Linked DNA regions of Homo sapiens: all the other regions are linked to region 1. Evidence: promoter capture Hi-C in human tissues and cell types (Jung and others, 2019). All regions are on one chromosome and are shown on one strand. The core of a region is centred on a gene start or on the middle of the fragment in contact, and the rest is flanking DNA. Distances in the headings are between cores, read along the strand shown.

The links. Contacts are between HindIII fragments. The study calls those that stand out against the background at their distance.
Region 2: a contact is called between a fragment that was not itself captured here and the fragment with the promoter of C19orf12 in region 1, in 1 of the 25 tissues and cell types used here (dorsolateral prefrontal cortex).
Region 3: a fragment that was not itself captured here is called in contact with the fragment with the promoter of C19orf12 in region 1 in 1 of the 25 tissues and cell types used here (H1 embryonic stem cells).

Annotation. Positions count from the first base shown.
Region 1 is chr19:29,714,011-29,716,562 of GRCh38, forward strand. C19orf12 (chromosome 19 open reading frame 12) reads right to left here and starts at 1,251. Exons shown (of 3, transcript NM_031448.6): 1 at 1,115-1,251. RefSeq lists a silencer at 786-1,575 and enhancers at 1,746-1,845, 2,391-2,552. The HindIII fragment of the contact is 8,975 bases long and covers 1,225-2,552 here.
Region 2 is chr19:30,639,030-30,641,581 of GRCh38, forward strand. It overlaps a transcript of ZNF536 not described here. Among named protein-coding and RNA genes, the nearest start is that of ZNF536-AS1, 30 kb to the right of the region's middle. The HindIII fragment of the contact is 3,093 bases long and covers 1-2,552 here.
Region 3 is chr19:30,234,953-30,237,504 of GRCh38, forward strand. It overlaps a transcript of ZNF536 not described here. Among named protein-coding and RNA genes, the nearest start is that of ZNF536, 140 kb to the right of the region's middle. The HindIII fragment of the contact is 8,727 bases long and covers 1-2,552 here.

The DNA of each region.
Region 1 (2,552 bases), core at 1-2,500:
TCTCTTTCCCTCTCCCCTTCCTTCCTGCTTTTTGTTGTTGCTGGTGTTGTTGTTGTTTTTTCCAGAAACGCAGTCTCCCTGTGTTGCCTAGGCTGGTCGGGAACTGGCCTCAAGCAATTCTTCCGCCTCGGCCTCCCGAGTAGCTGGAACTACAGGTGCTATTCCAAGATGGTGAAACCCCGTCTCTACTAAAAAATACAAAAATTGGTCGGGGTGGCTCACGTCTGTAATCCCAGCATTGCAGAAGGCTGAGGCAGGTGGATCGCAAGGTCAGGAGTTTGAGATTAGCCTGGCCGATATGGTGAAACTCCGTCTCTACTAAAAATACAAAAAAATTAGCCAGGCTTGGTGGTGTCGCCTGTAATCCCAGCTACTAGGGAGGCTGAGGCAGGGGAATTGCTTGAACGAGGGAGGTGGAGGTTGCAGTGAGCCGAGATCGCGCCATTGCACTCCAGCCTGGACAACAGAGCAAGACTGTCTAAACAAAAGCTCAACAAACTACCTGCCATCCCCAAAACTAATCTCACCTCCTAAAGCATTAACGACCCTTCCTGACCAAATCTAAACTAGCGCCCAGATTTTCTTCCCATATGGCTCAGCCCAGCTCCGCTGCCCCACAGGTGTCCTGTCAGGATCCGCTTCACATTTATAATACCTAGCACCCCACCCCCAGCCCCGCCCCTGCCCCACCAGCCACCCCCACTCTACCCCACCCCTACCCATCACATTCCGCACCCCACCCCCGCCAAACCCACATCCCCACCCCACCCAACCTCACCCACTCCCACCACATCCACCACCCGCACCCCACCCCCACCCACCACACCCATGCCTACGCCACTCCTGGGTGACAGCGAGCCAGGGCCCGGGACTCTAGTCCCAGCTCTGCTGCTTACTTGTGTGACTTCAGCCTCTCCATGCCTCAGTTTCTCCATAGGGACAATGACTACACTAACAGTGTCCACCCCGGCACCGGGAGGGCCGGGCTCCCGGCAGGGCGGGGACCCTCTCCCCAAGGCACTCCCGGGTCTCCAGGCCTGCTCTTGGGGTGCCCCCTCCTCTCGCGGGGCGCGGCCTGGGAGGCGCCCCGCCCCGGCTCCGGGCGCTCCTTTACCTGGGGGAGCGGAGGTCTACGCGGCGCGCTCGGCGATCAGACGCGGCTGCAGCCCGGGCCTGGCAGGCCCCGGGCTCCCCGCCCAGCTCCCCAGCCCCGCGGAGGGTCGCGCAGGCCTTGGTGGCGGCCCCGGCGCTGGCCCCGCCCTCCGTCCCACCTTCCGGCTGCGCCGGGCCTTCCGGGAAGCCACGCGCCGGGCCAGCTCCTGGCTCCGAGCTGCGCCCGGCCTTAGGGGGAGCCGGGGGTCGCTGCTGGGCACCCCCTCCCCGGTCCTGGCCCACCCCGCCGCTGTCACCGGGGCCCTGGCTTGGGTTGCGGGTGGCGTAAGGAGACGAGGCGCCCGGAGAAGAGTCCTGGGAACCGCAAGGCCGCGCTCCCGCAGGCCCAGCCCTGCCTTTCTCCCACGCGCACGCATGATCACATCCGGGCCCCGCGCACCTGCCTCCAGGACCGCGGGGACCTCCCGGAGACCTCCCTCCCTTTGGCCTGGAGGACCCCTCTCTCCCCGCAGCCTGGGCACAGAAGAGAGCACAGGGGCATCTGGAGGTCAAGGGTGCTGCGTCAGTATTTGGTGAATGTGTGGGCCGGAGCCAGATTTCCTCTGTTCCAGAGCCTGCTCTGGAGCCTCTGGGTCTGGGGGTTGCAAAAGGAGAAGCAGGTTGGGTGGGACTCGTAATCCCAGCTGCCAGTGAGGCTGAGGAGGGAGGATTGCTTGAGCCCAGCAGTTCGAGCGTGGGCAACACAGTGACATCCCATCTCTACAAATAATAATAAAAATTAGGCCGGGTGGGTGAGTCATACCTGTGACCTACAGCATTTTGGGAGGCTGAAGCGGGAGGATTGCTTGAGCCCAGGAGTTCGAGGCTGCAGTGAACTATGATCCCACCACTGCACTTCAACCTGGGTGACAGAGTGAGACCGTCTCTTAAAGAAAGAAAAAAAAGGAAAAGAACTGGCTTTGCTCTTAGGAGTCTTGGATGGGGACCAAAGCTGAGGCAAGGCAGCCTCTTAGGAAGGTGCAAAGGGCATGAGGCTGGGGTTGCAGAACTGCCTGGGAATACTACTTTATTGAGGCCTGTGGAAAGCTGTCCCTACTCTTGTCATGCAAGGTCTGGCCTTGAACCATCTCAAATCCAAAAGTGGCTTCTGGGGGGCTCTATAGAGAATTAATCCTAACAGGAACCCTGCAAAGCAGGCATGGTTGTCACTGCTATATTACAGATGGGAAGCTCTAAACACAGGCTGCTCTGCCCAAGGCCATCCTGGTTAGAAAGTTTCAGGGCCCAAACTCCAGCCTCGGTCTCGGTATCTCAAAGTCTCCGCCTGTGACCAGCACTCTGCCTGCTTTCCAGGGTGCCATGGGCACCCAGAGGACGGACCCTTTTCCATTTTTAAAAGAATGGAACAAACGCTCTTAATACCAAGCTTCCCCAGGCCT
Region 2 (2,552 bases), core at 15-2,514, 930 kb after region 1:
AACTCTAGAACTCAATATTTGTATCTTTGGTAGGCCTGATTACATTAGCTGTTGCCTGATTTTCTGTCTTTGTTTTTACTCATTTGGTCGTATTTCCTGGTGTTCCTGGTAATTTTTATCAAATGTCAGACATGGCGTATACAAATTTTAGAGATGCCTTTTGACTGTATGAGAACTGCCAAATAGGAATGTAATGTGAACCACCCACGTCATTTAAATTTTGTAGTAGCAACATTAAATAAGCATGAATACATAGTTAACTATTTTTAAGAACGTATTTTGTTGTATTTAACCTGGTGTACCCGAAGTATTATCATTTGAGCAGGTAACCAATATAAAGAGTATTAATGGGACATTTTACGTGTCTTTTTTGTACTAAGTCTTGGAAATCCAGTGAGTGTTTTACCCTCATAGCACTTCTCAATTCTGACAAAGCCCCATCCCAAGTTCCCAGTAGCCACATGGCCGTCAGCTACCCTGGCAGGCAGCACAGCTCTGGATGGTGTTATCTTCCTCTAGGGAGGATTTACTTTTGTTTCCAGTAGGCCATTAGGCTTGCGGAAGATCACCATAAGTCAATCAGAAATTGAGCAGATTTTAAGGATTTATTTCTTATCTGTTCTTACTCCTTCTTCTGCCCCTTTAGGGGTAACAAATAAGTGTGCGGGGTGCTTATCAGGAAACTTCTGCCTTACAAAGCCCTAGATTCTGGTGTTTATCTTCTTGGTCCCTTGGACTACGGATGTCTCTGCTTTGCTTCTCAGCATCTCGTTGGCTGCCATTTGTAAGTTCACAACTGTCTCAAGGGGAAAAGCAAAGTCAAAAGCAAGCCCAGCATTCTGTGCTCCTTCCTTTTTAGAATCTTGACCTGTCAAGTCTTGGCTCCTTTGATAACTCTATTACACCTTGAAATTATTTATATACTCACATACTGGCCAGGTGCTGTGGCTCACGCCTGTAATTCCAGCACTTTGGGAGGCCGAGATGGGCAGATCACCTGAGGTCAGGAGTTTGAGACCAGCCTGGCTAACACGGTGAAACCTCCATCACTACCAAAAAATACAAAAATTAGCTGGGCGTGGTGGCACGTGCCTGTAGTCCCAGCTACTTGGGAGGCTGAGGTGGAAGGATCACTTGAATCCGGGAGGCAGAGGTTGCAGTGAGCCAAGATCACGCCACTGCATTCCAGCCTGGGCAACAGAGTGAGAGTGAGACCCTGTCTCAAGAAAAAAAAAATTGGTTATATACACACAAATACGCACCACTGTTTTTTTCATGCAGCTTTTCTAGTTGTGCTCAATAAGACAGTTGATTTGTTACAGGCTCTTTTACTATAGCCAGAAGTAGAAGTAAAATAACGTCTTAAATAACTAAAACCAGATTTTCCTCCCCTGTTTGGCAATCAGCACTGTTTCAGCCTTTGAGAGAAAACTTATTTCTTTACTTCTGACTCAGCACACCAAAATCTCTGGGGAAGAAGATTATCTCCCCAGTTCTAAGGACTGGCAAATTGAGGTATCGTAAGATTGTGCCTCGCAAGAGTCAGGCCCAAGATCCTCCAGGCTTCTCCCTGCACCGTCTTACCAGCCTGCAAGGCAGGGAGGTTTGCTGACCTGGTGTTTGTACTGGTAGCTCCTGAATATCCCTCTGTGCAGGCACAGGCACTCCATATCCTATATGAAGTGGTAGCAGTGGCCATCATTCCAGGCAAGCTTACAGTTTCACAGAGATCAGAGGCACATTCAAAGGACATTCATTTCTTATGCAGCATTTACTAAGATGTTGTCTTATACCAGACCTGGGCTAGGGCCTCGTGTCAGCAGCAGAATGCCGTCATTCACAGCCCTGCTGTTGGGGAGCACGTCTCCTGGGGCACATCCTGGTTTGGTATGAAGGCCCTGTCTGGGACATAGACACAGAATGCTGTGGACACATGAAAACCCTATGCAGCTGTACACATTCCCACCTGCGTAAGTCTCTAGTTCAGCTTCAGTACCGCTTAGTTATCTCTGGATCAGCAGCTAAGGCCTTATAATATTTCAAGTATAAAATATTTAAATAAAACATTTTACCATGTTCGTGAGATAAAATCTTTAGCATTAATAGAAATTTTACTTTTTCACAAAAAATGGAAGTTAACTGAAGCTTACTTTTAATATACTACATTTAACCCAATCTGTTTTACTTCTCAAAAAAGAAATCAACCTGTGTTTTCTTGAAAGAAAAGCAAATTCTATTTTTTTCTGTTCTGATTATTTAAAAAATAGAAAAAACTCCCAGACATTGCTTACTGCATGAAGAATGCCACAGTTTTAGTTTATCTCCTTTCAGCTTTCTTCCTGTGCCTAGCTTTTATGGAATTGTAATCTTGCTGTCATATGATTTCTGCATGTCATATACATGTAATATATATGTGTAGTATGAAATTTTTTCTCATGTTATTAAAACGTATATGTATAAACGTATGGCTACACTAAAATATCATTATATAGTTATTTACCCTATTGTTGAATATGTCGACTGTTTCCAATGTTTTTATTATTACAAATATA
Region 3 (2,552 bases), core at 33-2,532, 520 kb after region 1:
CCAGATCGTAGGACCCTCGGGAGGTGGTATTAATTCAGCAGACATTCCTGCTTGTGGTTTCCAGGTACAGGAGGAAGGGAAGGTTTGGGGCTCTTCGGTGTAGGTATGGAGAGGTGGCCACAACATTGACACCTGCAGTGGCCACTATTGGGTGGTGACCCCATGCCAGGCACTACATTACACACCCCGGGTGCATTATCTTGCTTAGTTCTTTTAATGCCCCAGGGAAGGGCCTCCCTTGGGGCAGCTTCCGCAGTGGGCAAACTGAGGGGTGTAGGAACTTGTTGCTGCCCATGCCTGTGGCATGGCCGAGCGGGCATTGGAAGCCAGCTGCATTGGCCCAGGAGGCGCGTGTCTCAGCCTTGTTTGCACTCCTGCCTCCCTAAACTGTCCTTAGCACTGAGAACAAAATCATCCTTCTGAATAATGTTAACCCGCCTTGAAAAGGAAAGTTAAAAATGTCAACCGGAACTTGCTACTTTGAGAACATATACATTGTTGTGAATTTGTTATTAAGAGGGAGAAAATATTTGGAAATGCTATGTCAGCTAACAAGTAACTATAGAGACAGCAAACAGATCACAGCCCACATAGATATTACATATAAAATTTAATCTCTTTGAATAGCTTGATATTTAATTTTATCTTCTGAAATATCTAGAAACACTTATCCCTTATTGACTAGAGAAAAAAAGTAGCTTACACAATTTTTGTGTGTGGTTATTTTCCCAAAATTTTAATTCCCGATTAAAATCTATTTAAATCAAATCAGGCAATGTCTTCCAAATTATTATGGAAAGGCCGTCATTTATATGAAGCCTATTGAAGGGGCTGGGAAGTCTTACTGCAATTAGAGCTAAAGTGCTTTAATTATTTTGCTTCCCCGGCCAGGGCCCCCAGTTTTGGGGTTGTAATCTGTTGATGCCAAGTGGCTATTTCAGCAGCCTTAAATCTGCACCGAGCAGAGAGCGTCTCACGGATAGAACATGGCTGGATCTGTTCATTAAACTCAGTGCATGGATTCCACAGCATCAGAGAAACTTTATTCCCCAACGTTTCCACCCGAAAGAGGGTCAATGCTGGTGGGTGGGCAGTCCCCCTCCAACAGCCCAAGAAGAGTTCAAAAGGTGGAAAAGTGGTAGTGTGGGAATGCGAGGAGGAAGAAAAGCGGCCACATGCCGGCATGAAAGGATTTAATCTGCGCAGCCGAAACCTCCTCTGATAGTGGAGGGCTTGCTTCTGTGCTGGTCTTGGCAAAGCCACTCTCTCACTGAGTCCTGCCGCCGCCGGGTACTGAGGACTTGCATGTAGCTGGGAACAGTCTGAAGCCACAGCCTGCCTGGAGCTCTCATGGACATTGCATGCACCATTTCTTAAGCAAAAAGCCAGACACTCCATCTGCAATTCTTTTTAGAGATCATTGGTTTGACAACTTCATATTTATTTTCCGTGTGATTTTTGTTTTGTTTTGTTTCAGCCCCCCCACCCCACCCATTTCCTTCTTTTTGGCTTTTTCACCCTGTGTGTACACATTCATCCTGAAAGTATTTTGAAAAAGCTTTTGTTAAAGTTGGGGCGGGGGGGGGGTACAATTGGAATTTTAGTTCCATTTAAAATTTCCATCTATTTTGAAGGCAGAAGAAGTACAGACAAGATAACATGAACATTTCCATCATCTAAAAATGGATTAAGGCTGCAAGGTAGCAATTTTCCCCTTTAATAACTACTGCCACCCCAAGAAGACACAGTGGCTTTCTTAGTAGGTGACAAACGATTAGCTCAGCCAGGGTCTGGTCATCTGGTTGGCATTCCCCATGACAGTGCCCTGGGATGTAACGGATGGTGATATGGCTTGTCCTTTGGAGGGGGGTGGTAGGGATGTGTATGCCCGGCATGTTGGCATGTTTGTTCTTTGGCGATGGCTGTCTGGTGAGGTCAAGTAATATATTCCAGATATTAGAGTATGTGCCATCTTCCAAATGCTTCCTGAAGAACTGGTTGCATTTTGACATTCTGCTCCTTTGTCTCACTGACACCAGCAACTTGATCCTCACGTCTCAAAATGTTGACAGGAGCTAGATTCTTGTGAGATTTTTTTTTTTTTCTTCTAGGCACTGCCTGGCTAAGGAGCCTGGCCACTCAGGTGAAAAATACCAGGCCCCTGTGTGGATCTGGGGGACAGCAGGAGTCTGTTGTTAAGAAAACTTTTTCTCCCTTTGCATGATAATATTGCTCAGATGAAAATCACACAATTTTTGTGTGATCTCCAAATACCACCTTCAATAAAATAATTTGTTCATTGATCTGAAGAATGAGTGGTTTCCAGCTGCTTCCTTCCCCGGGACAGACTTTCGCATTGGAATCTGTCTCTTTGACTCACTTCTGGTAGAGGTTGGCCTCCCGTGGAGGCCATTGTGAAAGGGCCAGGCAGCCTGGGGAGGCTGGGGATGGAGCCCTTGTTTCTCTAGGAATCAGAGGGCTTAGCAGAATCAAACACAAAATCATAATATGATAATTTGAGCTTAAACGTGAAGGTATTTATGATCACTGAT